Regions from separate parts of the Homo sapiens genome. Here regions 1 and 2 are each linked to region 3. The links are contacts of gene promoters, found by promoter capture Hi-C in human tissues and cell types (Jung and others, 2019). All regions are on one chromosome and are shown on one strand. Each heading gives the region's core, a stretch centred on a gene start or on the middle of the fragment in contact. The rest is flanking DNA. Distances are from core to core; before and after follow the strand shown.

The links. The method cuts DNA at HindIII sites, captures the fragments that hold promoters and counts their contacts. A contact is called where the count stands out against the background at its distance.
Region 1: a contact is called between a fragment that was not itself captured here and the fragment with the promoter of RRAS2 in region 3, in 2 of the 25 tissues and cell types used here (mesendoderm cells and spleen).
Region 2: a contact is called between a fragment that was not itself captured here and the fragment with the promoter of RRAS2 in region 3, in 1 of the 25 tissues and cell types used here (hippocampus).

Annotation. Positions count from the first base shown.
Region 1 is chr11:13,918,763-13,921,755 of GRCh38, reverse strand. LINC02683 (long intergenic non-protein coding RNA 2683) reads left to right here. Exons shown (of 2, transcript NR_135052.1): 2 at 1-309. Among named protein-coding and RNA genes, the nearest start is that of LINC02683, 4.6 kb to the left of the region's middle. The HindIII fragment of the contact is 6,050 bases long and covers 1-2,993 here.
Region 2 is chr11:13,954,173-13,957,382 of GRCh38, reverse strand. No RefSeq gene overlaps it. Among named protein-coding and RNA genes, the nearest start is that of SPON1, 6.9 kb to the left of the region's middle. The HindIII fragment of the contact is 4,411 bases long and covers 1-3,210 here.
Region 3 is chr11:14,357,643-14,360,452 of GRCh38, reverse strand. It overlaps RRAS2 (RAS related 2), which reads left to right and starts at 1,270. Exons shown (of 6, transcript NM_012250.6): 1 at 1,270-1,690. The coding sequence starts at 1,583. RefSeq lists silencers at 1,171-1,670, 1,741-1,940, 1,981-2,100 and an enhancer at 2,341-2,440. The HindIII fragment of the contact is 8,284 bases long and covers 1-2,393 here.

The DNA of each region.
Region 1 (2,993 bases), core at 147-2,646, 440 kb after region 3:
CTGCAATCGGCCCTGACCTCTCAGAATGCAGCTTGCCCCAGACTGATATAGCTCATCCCTCATTGGGTGCATCTGTGCCCAGCTACCCTGGTTCTGATGAAGTAAATAGGACACATATGTCACCGTGGAGCCTCATGAGTCTCTTTAGATAAAGATAAATTTGGAAAATTGCAAAACTCTCCAGAGACAATACCTTCCTAATGATTTCTGCCTTCTTTGACACCTCATTGCACTGATTAATGGTCATTCAAATTGATCACCTGGCATAGCTCACTGTCAAAATAAAAAAGGACATATTTTAAAAAGTCAGGTGCTGTCTTGTGTGGTAGAATCCTGGTGTGTGTGTGTGTGTGTGTGTGTGTGTGTGTGTGTGCGCGCACACACACAGGCTTATAACAATGACAAACAGACGCAGCTTCTGAATCCTAAAATTTACTGGTGGCCCCCACTCTACGTGTATGTTCCTTAGTACTATAATTCTTAGGACTTTAAATAATTAGTCTCCACAATTTGCTCTCATATTAGCCAAAATTGTTAGGGTAAGGCTGGCCAAATATTTTAAGCCACATAAAAGTGGATAATTGTTTTTCTAGAGTCCTTTGTTATAGTCTACCCCGAGAGGTTAAAAAAAAGAAAATTAGGTGGCAACAGAAGCAGCCTCTTTTATAACATCGTTACAAGCTATGAGCAAAGAAAAGAAACCTACTTTGGATGCCAAGTCTCAATATGGATTCCATCACTCCCCCTAAATTCTTTTTATCTGGCTCTGATGGGGTTTACAATTGAGCCCGCACACAACTCATATATGACAACACCACTCATAGTTCTATAGCAGAGTTAGGAAATATTTGAATGTGAGAAACAGAAACCCACTCAAAATGACACAACCCCAGAAGGAAAGCTCAATGGAAGCAGATAGTGAATGTCTCTCAGATCCCAAGGGCTTTATAGAGAGCCAACATCCATTAAAGCCAGGAACCAAGGGTAAGGGGCTGCACAATCCCTCAACTCTCCCCATCCGTAGTCCAGCTCCAGCAGGTCCAGGAGCAGAGCCCAAGCTTCTGCTCCACCTGACTTCCAAGTTCTAGCATCTCAGATGGACTAAGTATCTCAGTCTCTAGTTTTAAGTCCGACAGGGAGAGAGAGAGGAGAGAGAGAGAGAGAGAATTGAATTGGTCACCAGACTGGATCCTCTTGGGTCACAAATCTCAGAATTTTGAGTGGGGCAGTTTTAGGTAGAGTGGCATCTCAGCAACATTGATTAATATCTATTTAACAAGCAAGATCTCTGGTCAAGAGAGGCTCTGTGGTATTCCCACTTTGGAAACTTACTTCAGGGGGAAAGAGTACCAGGATCTATATGAAGAGGGCCAGGCATTTCACAAAGGGCCATTGAGAGGGGTATTACATGAGAACACATGGGAGAGAAGGTGTTGGGACCTGAAATTAGAAAAGAAACTGCAACAAAGACTGTAGAGAGCAATTCTAACCTTGGGATGAAGGTAAGTACAGAACTATGAGGGCTGATGTGGGACCCTGAAAAATGGGAACTGACCAGATTAAGGTCACAGACCAGGAGGACAGGTTTTGGGGGAGGAGTAAGGATTCAGTCAAATGGCTAACTATATCATCATCTCAGCAAGAAATATATATCGTCTCACTTAATCCTTACAACAAATCTCCCACTTAGCTAAAGGTAACAGTGTGGTGATTACTCACCCTGCCTCTGGTGTCTGAATGCCTGGGTTCAAATTCTAGCCCTGCCATTTCCTAGCTCTGTAACTTTGGGCCACGAATTTTTCTCTTCATGCCTAAAATCCTCCTCTGCAAAATCTCAGCAAAGGATTAACAGTAGCTCAGCTGCCAAGTATGGGGTTAAACAAGATGGGGAGGGAAAGAGAGAACTAACTTTTGCTGAGTACTCTATTAGGATCCAAAGCATATGCACATGTTTTTACATCCCAGTACATTCTCAAACCCTGAGATAAACTATGAAATCTTAGGGGGATCACTCTGCCTTCATTCTTCCCAACTCTTTCAATTATTTTCATTGTCTATTCTGCAGCTCATGTGAATATTCTAATAGCATAAAACTGATCTCGCCTCTGCGTTATTAGGTTTGGTGGTTTCTCATCATCTACAAGATCAAATCCTTACACTTTAGTTAGGCACATATTATGCTTCCCAAACAGCCTCAACCTACTTCATAGCCTCTTCCTCACCCCCTCCACCCTGTCTTTTCTCAATGATTTTGCTCTTCCATACCTCTATTTGTTCAGTTTGTATGTTTTTGAACATACATTTGTCTTTGTCTTAATTGCCCACTTTCCCGTCTTTCCTCCCCAATTTGCAAAAGTTTATTGATCATTCAAGATCAAGGTCAAATACCTCTTTCAAATTCAAAATCTAGGTCAAATGTCCATGACTTCTTGGGGCTGTTAATTGCCCCCTCCTAATACTCCAAACGTATCTCCATTATAGCACTTTATCACATTCTATTAATTCATCCTTCTATCTGGCTCTTTCTCATTGCACACAAGGATCTAGAGGGCAGACCTTGGGGCTTCTTCCTCCCTACATCTCCAAGGTCTCCCACAGTTCCTGGTCTAGGGTAGGCTTGTAATCAGTGCTTGTTGAATGAATGTGATCCCTGAAGCTTTCACACTCACGGTTGGTCTTAACTGGTATTTTGCAAGAATTATATTCCACCCCCTAGTTGAGGCATGCTCATGTTTAGACACAGAAGAAGAAAATATGGAATATTGTTGCTGTGGAAACTAACTTGGAAAATGACTTTCTTTTCTCCTTTATATAAATGTACAAGTCATATCTCATGGCTAAGTGGTCTATGAGTACTTACATAATGACACTGAAAGCCTCAAGCCTGCTCCCAAGGCGTTCTGTGGCAGTCAGCAATGCAGACCATGGAACACGTTCCCTGTGCCATTCTAGCATATAATCTTTCTCACTTTGATGCCCAGTTGCTGGGTTAA
Region 2 (3,210 bases), core at 211-2,710, 400 kb after region 3:
AGCTTTCCCATTTCTCACCTCCTCTATGTCATTGAGGTCTACAGCTGCTTAGTCACTTCTGATTTTTTCCAGCCCATCTTGTTAATTCCTTCCCCACCCAGCCTGGACACCATGTTCAATCATTTTAACTATATCCTAACCACCATTCTTCATTAGCTCTCCTCTTTTATTTCTGTTCCTCCTCTTTAACCCCCAACCTACAGCAAATCAACCAAGCAAAACAATGGAACCCTCCCCGACTTCTGAGTTCTGCTGCACAAAACCTGGTAACCCTGCCAATTACTTTACTACAAATGCATGAATTCTACCTTTAAGTATAGTTCTTAAATTTATTCCTAATCAGTTTCTTTTCCTATTCATCTAGTCCTTACCATCTTTTCAAGCCTGCTTCATCACTCTTTAATTCTCACTCTTTGGTATGGAGAGGGGTGGTTACTTGCCCTCTTATTTTATCCCTCACATGGGGGACATTAGGCATGAACTTCTTCAAATCTCCATATCTCCTTCCACAAACCAAACTCTGGCAAAATCCAAGTTCACTTCTTGCCTCAAATGCAGAAGGGTTTAACTCTTCAATTTTTTCAAGGCTAATCCCCTACTTGCATTCTTGTCCTCATTTCCTGACTTCTGCCAAACACTGATCTAGCTCTTATCCTCTCTCCCTCTTGTATTTCTGTTTCTGTTTCTGTCCATGTCCTTGGCCTGCGGCTCTAGCTAAGTCTTCCCCATCCTGGGCGGGGAATTGGACTAGGGATTCAGGTAGTGCTAGTCAAGAGACTGGACTTTTTACTGACCTTGTCTCACTCTCTGTGTCCTCTGTTGTAACTCTGTTTCCTCAGTTTTCACTCATTTTTTTTTTCATGTGGTGTAGCTTGGAATCAGCTCATATCTCTTTACGGAAAGTGTTCTAACAGAGATCACCTAAGACCTCCTAATTGCCATAGACGTTGTCTGAATTAAAAACAGCGGAATAGAAGCTCACCACTGAGAGCAGTTAAAAAGAATTGCACAGCAGGAGGTCTTCCAAGGTATAGATCTGCTCCCAACCTGGAGATCTCTAAGTCTCCTTGCTTTTAGGTTTACGGATTAAAGAGAGCACTGTGTCTAAATGCAGCACAGCATGCCAGGTGCAGCTGTGGGCAGCTCCCAAGAGCAAACCCTTGCAAGTCCAGCCACACATAGAACCCAGACGCAGTCTACATTCCCCTTGTGGTTCTCTTGCTATTAATCTAGCAACCCGACCCAAGCAGAACCACTTTTTTGAAGTTCTGGGAACTTCATGGCTTGGACCACATGACCATGGCACACTACTGCCACCTGGTGACAGTGAACTGAACATGCAGCAGTATTAAGTAAAAACTCCTAAGCACCCCGGCACTCCTTGAACCTATTTTAAACTGGAATGTTTGGGCCCATTTTAGACTAGATTGTTTGCTCTTTGAGAATAGACTCATTGAGTTTTACACTATTTTAGAATAATATGTCTGCATAAAGCAGGTGTTTAGTGAATTTTTGTGAAATTTAAGCCTTTCATTCATTCAGCAAACATGTATTGGAGGAGGTAATCCAAAGAAAAACAAGACATAATTCCTGCCTTCAAGAAGCCGCAGAGATGGATAAAGCAGATATTTGTAAAACAAAGAATTATGTGTACTAAGTATTAAAGGGGGCACAGAGAAGGGAGTAACTAATTCTGCCCAGGTAAAGTAACACTTGAAAAGGTACTCAACACCTTCTCGAAAGACAGATCAGAACTTGTCAACTGGACACGGGGATGGAGAATATAGGAGGGGAGGAGAGCTAATGCAAAAGCTTAGAGATGAGAGAAGGCAGAGTGTGTCCTTCGGGTAGCAGAGTGACCTTTTCAGTGGCATTGTATGAAGATGGATTGTCCAGTGAGAGTGTAGGGGGGGTGACACATGTTAAGAGGCTTTAACAACAGTCCAGAGGAGAGCTGCGAGCTAAGGCTAGGAGGAAGGGATGAATTGGAGGGCTGTTCAGGAAGCAGACTAAAGAGGATGGAACGCCTGGTGATATGCAGGAAGGGAGACGGGAGTGGCTCTGAGAGTTCTCATAAGGGCCACTGGGTTGTATATCTACCACCTCAGTGGTATATTTTTCCAAGACAACAAATTCAAGAAGAGAACCCACGGGACATGTGGGAATGAGGAATGTGTGAGATGATATATATTCCATTGTGGACACTTGACATTTAAGGGGTCTTTCAGAGGGGGATGTACAGTGGACTGTCAAAGACAATAGGTTTCTATCTCAGAAGGGAGTGAGCACTGGAGACAGAGACCTGGGAGTTGGTATTGTGCCCCAACACTCCCTTTAAGATACTCTCAAAGCTTAGCTGTCTTATGTTACTTCTCAGCTTTGTGCTCTGATTTCCAAACCAATAGACCGATTTGATAGATGTAATTTTGCTAGCATGCTAATGGGAAAATAGTAATCTTGAGTTCCCTACCTGGTTCACAAGGTGACACAGGAGGATGTTTACAATGGCATCCCAGGGTAAACAAAAGATGTAGGACTCTAGCCTCTGTAACCTAGAAGGTACTCATGGTTCTGGAGAGCTTCCCAAGCTTGTTGGCTGATCGCTCCTTTGCTCATGCATAAAGCTGGAACTGGAGGAAGGCACTGAGGGCGGAGAGTAGAGGAGAAAATAGACCTACATCCTTTCTGCCTGACAAGAAGAGAAAGAGACAGAAGGGAGGGAAGGAGACAAAGCAAACAGAACTGGAAATAGGGAAGAAGACAGAAATGACCAGAAAGCATATTTAGTGCATAAAGAAATACATAAGAGTGTCTGAGAAACAACAGAGGAAATGAGGCTCCCGTCCTCCTATTACCATAATGAAGTATCCATGTGAGGCAATAAAAAGGCTCTTTTTATGCCTTCCAATTAACTAGGGCTCAAGTTTTGCACGTCTCTCAGCTGGAAAATATAATTGCTGAAGTGTCAGGTTTACCAATTGGGTTGTGGCTTTAAATAAAGTGCCATCCAATTGTTATTTCACATATACAACCCAAAGAGCTGGCACCTGGAGGGAAAGGAAAAACAAAACCTCCAGAACATAATTCAGGCCCAAAACTCATTTCTCTGAGAAAAACTTGAGCCCAGCTTGTTGGTATGAACATTAAGAGGGAATAAGAATAAAAGACATTTATTCACTCATCAGATAGCGGTGACACTGACAATGCTGA
Region 3 (2,810 bases), core at 21-2,520:
CTTCAGCCTGGGTGACAGAGGGATCTTGTCTCAAAAAAGAAAAAAAAAAGATTTTTAAAAAAGGAATTCAGGATGGGCTGGCCTGGATGGGTATTTTTGCTTGGGGTCTCTCACGCAGTTGCATTCAGATGCTAACAGGGGATGCCGTCATTGGAAGGCTCGATTAGGCTGAGTGTCCAAGATGTCTCACTTAGATGGCTGGCAGGTGATGCTGGTGATCTGGTGGGAGCTCAGTGGGACTTTTTTTTTTTTTTTTTAAATGGCATGTTGCTCCTGGCCATCAATCAGACTTCGACTGGCATGCCTACATGTAGCCTCTTTAGCATGGCAGTCTTATGATAGTCAAACTTCTGACTTTGTTCCTCCCGGAGTGAGAATACCAAGAGAACAGCTGCATGGCCTCTTCTGATCTAGCCTGGGAAATTAGGCAGCATCTCTTCTGCTGCATTCTACTGGTTCCAAATGAGTTACCAAGTGAAGTCCAAGAACTTGCAGTCATGTTCCAAGATTGCTGTAAATGCTTCCTGTGTAGCAGCACTGTTTTATGTGCTCATTTAATTCTTATTAAAAACCCCATGAGGCCGGGTGCAGTGACTCACACCTGTAATTCCAGCACTTTGGGAGGCCGAGGCGGGAGGATTGCTTGAGGCCAGGAGTTCAACCCCTCGCACTCACACTCCTCATATCCAATTACTGCACATTTGTCACACATAAACATAGCCACTATGACACTGTACTGACACATACAAAATCTGTCACATTCCGTCTTGCCCATGCAAGCTCAATCACTGACTTATTCTCCATGCTCAGCCACTGTCCCATTCTTCACACTGTCACAACCACCAGCCCATCACACACTCAATTACTGTGACACAGCTCTAATCCTCAATCACTGTCACATACTGTTTTTCACACAAATATGGTCACCATCTGTACTCTTAAAGCAGGGTATGTACTCTCCTATAAAATTGAGTTAATATGCCAACAGCCCTATTTTTCGCACACGCCGTCACATATTGTATTTTTCATCCACACAATCCCTTACATAGACAATTAGGGTGACACACTCTTTCTGCCTTCGTCCCACTCCCAACTGACACCCACTCCCACACTCTCACGCACTCGCTCACTGGCTAGGGATTAGAGCGGTGTGTCCGTGGGGGTCTGAAGCCCGGGTTACCTCCCGAACCTCAGCCCCAAGCGGCGCGGCCCCGCCCCTCCCCGCCCCCTCATGCATATGCAGCACCTCAGCCTGGCAGCCCGGCCCCCAGACGGCCATTTGTGGCGGCGCTGGAGGCTGCGTTCGGCAGGCGCTGCGGAGACGCGTAGAGGAGCGCGCCCCCCGGCCGCTGCCGCCCCTGGCCCGTGCCGTCACCCCGCTTCTCCGCGCCTCGGGCGGTACCCAGCCAGTCCCCAGCGCCGCGCTACCGCGCTGACCGGCCCTCCAGACGCCTCCCGGTACCCGGGACCCCAGCCCGGCCGCTCGCCCGCAGCCCGCCGGCCGCACACGTCCCCGGAGCCGGGCCTAGGGCGGGCGGCAGCGGCGGCTCGGCGCAGTCAGGCTGGGCTCTGTAGCGTCCCCATGGCCGCGGCCGGCTGGCGGGACGGCTCCGGCCAGGAGAAGTACCGGCTCGTGGTGGTCGGCGGGGGCGGCGTGGGCAAGTCGGCGCTCACCATCCAGTTCATCCAGGTACCTGGAGCGGGCCTGCCCGGGGCGCCGGAGCGGCGGCGGGCGGGGGCTGGCGCTACCTGTGGCGGGGCGGCCGCCGCGACCTCGCCCCAGAGGCGCCTCGCGGGCCCGGGCCGGGGCCAGGGGGCGGGAGGGCGCGGGGCCGACTACGCTCCTGCCCTGCGGCCGCAGCGTCGCGCTCCTGCCTCCTCCCGGGCGCGGCGTCGCGGGAGTAGGGCTTCTCAGGAATGTGGTCGGGAGGGCGGAGCTGGAAGGGTGGGAAGCACCGATCCACCTTATTGCTCTGGCCGAGGCCAGAGACCTCCGGGAGAGGCTGGGCCACCGAGCCGGGCTTTACTGCTCCGAGGGTCCGGGCGTGGGGCTGGAGCTGGAGCCCCGCGCGCTGCTTTTCCAGCCGCCTGCGGCCGCGCCTTCACCGTCGGGGCGATAGCGGTGGCAACTTGGCCGCGGCTCCGCGTGGTCTCCGGGCTTCCCCGCGCCGCCTGAGCCGGAGCTGCCCGCTTCAAGTACTGTGTATTTCTTTGTGTGTGTGTTACGCTCTTTTTATAAGTACTCTCTTAGGTAATATGTCCGGGTGGGAGTGTGTGATAATGCCCCGGGGAAATGGTGGCTTCTAGGAAGTTAAAAATGTTCTCTGATGGGGTGAGACCATTTCCTAGGAATTCCTGATGCCGTCCTGCTTCTCGCCGTGCCTAGGTGAAGTTTGGGATGGGCCGGGCTAGGATATGACCGAGTCGTGCGTTCTGTTTTCTAACCACCCTCTCCCCTACCCCCAGCCCTCTCTGGTTGCTAGAGACGGTAAGTCAGGGGTTTGTGGTAAAGAAAAGGGAGGTGGTATTCTTCCTTCTTAGAATTTGCTCTTGGGGAGAGGTTTGAGTAGTCTTTTTTGGGATTTTTAAAACACAAAGCCCCGATGTCTTTCTGCTTTTGTCAACCTAAAAGGTGTGGCATATGCTGGGAGAGAACGAAGGTACCCTGTTATAACAGGAAACAAGGATATTTTTCACAGTATCTAGAGTATGAACGGTGAAATATTTTTGTCTGGTTTCCTTTTCACCCATTTGTCATTAATTGGGATACCTGAATAGCTTATTTCACTTAGTGTTTATAGTGACATTAA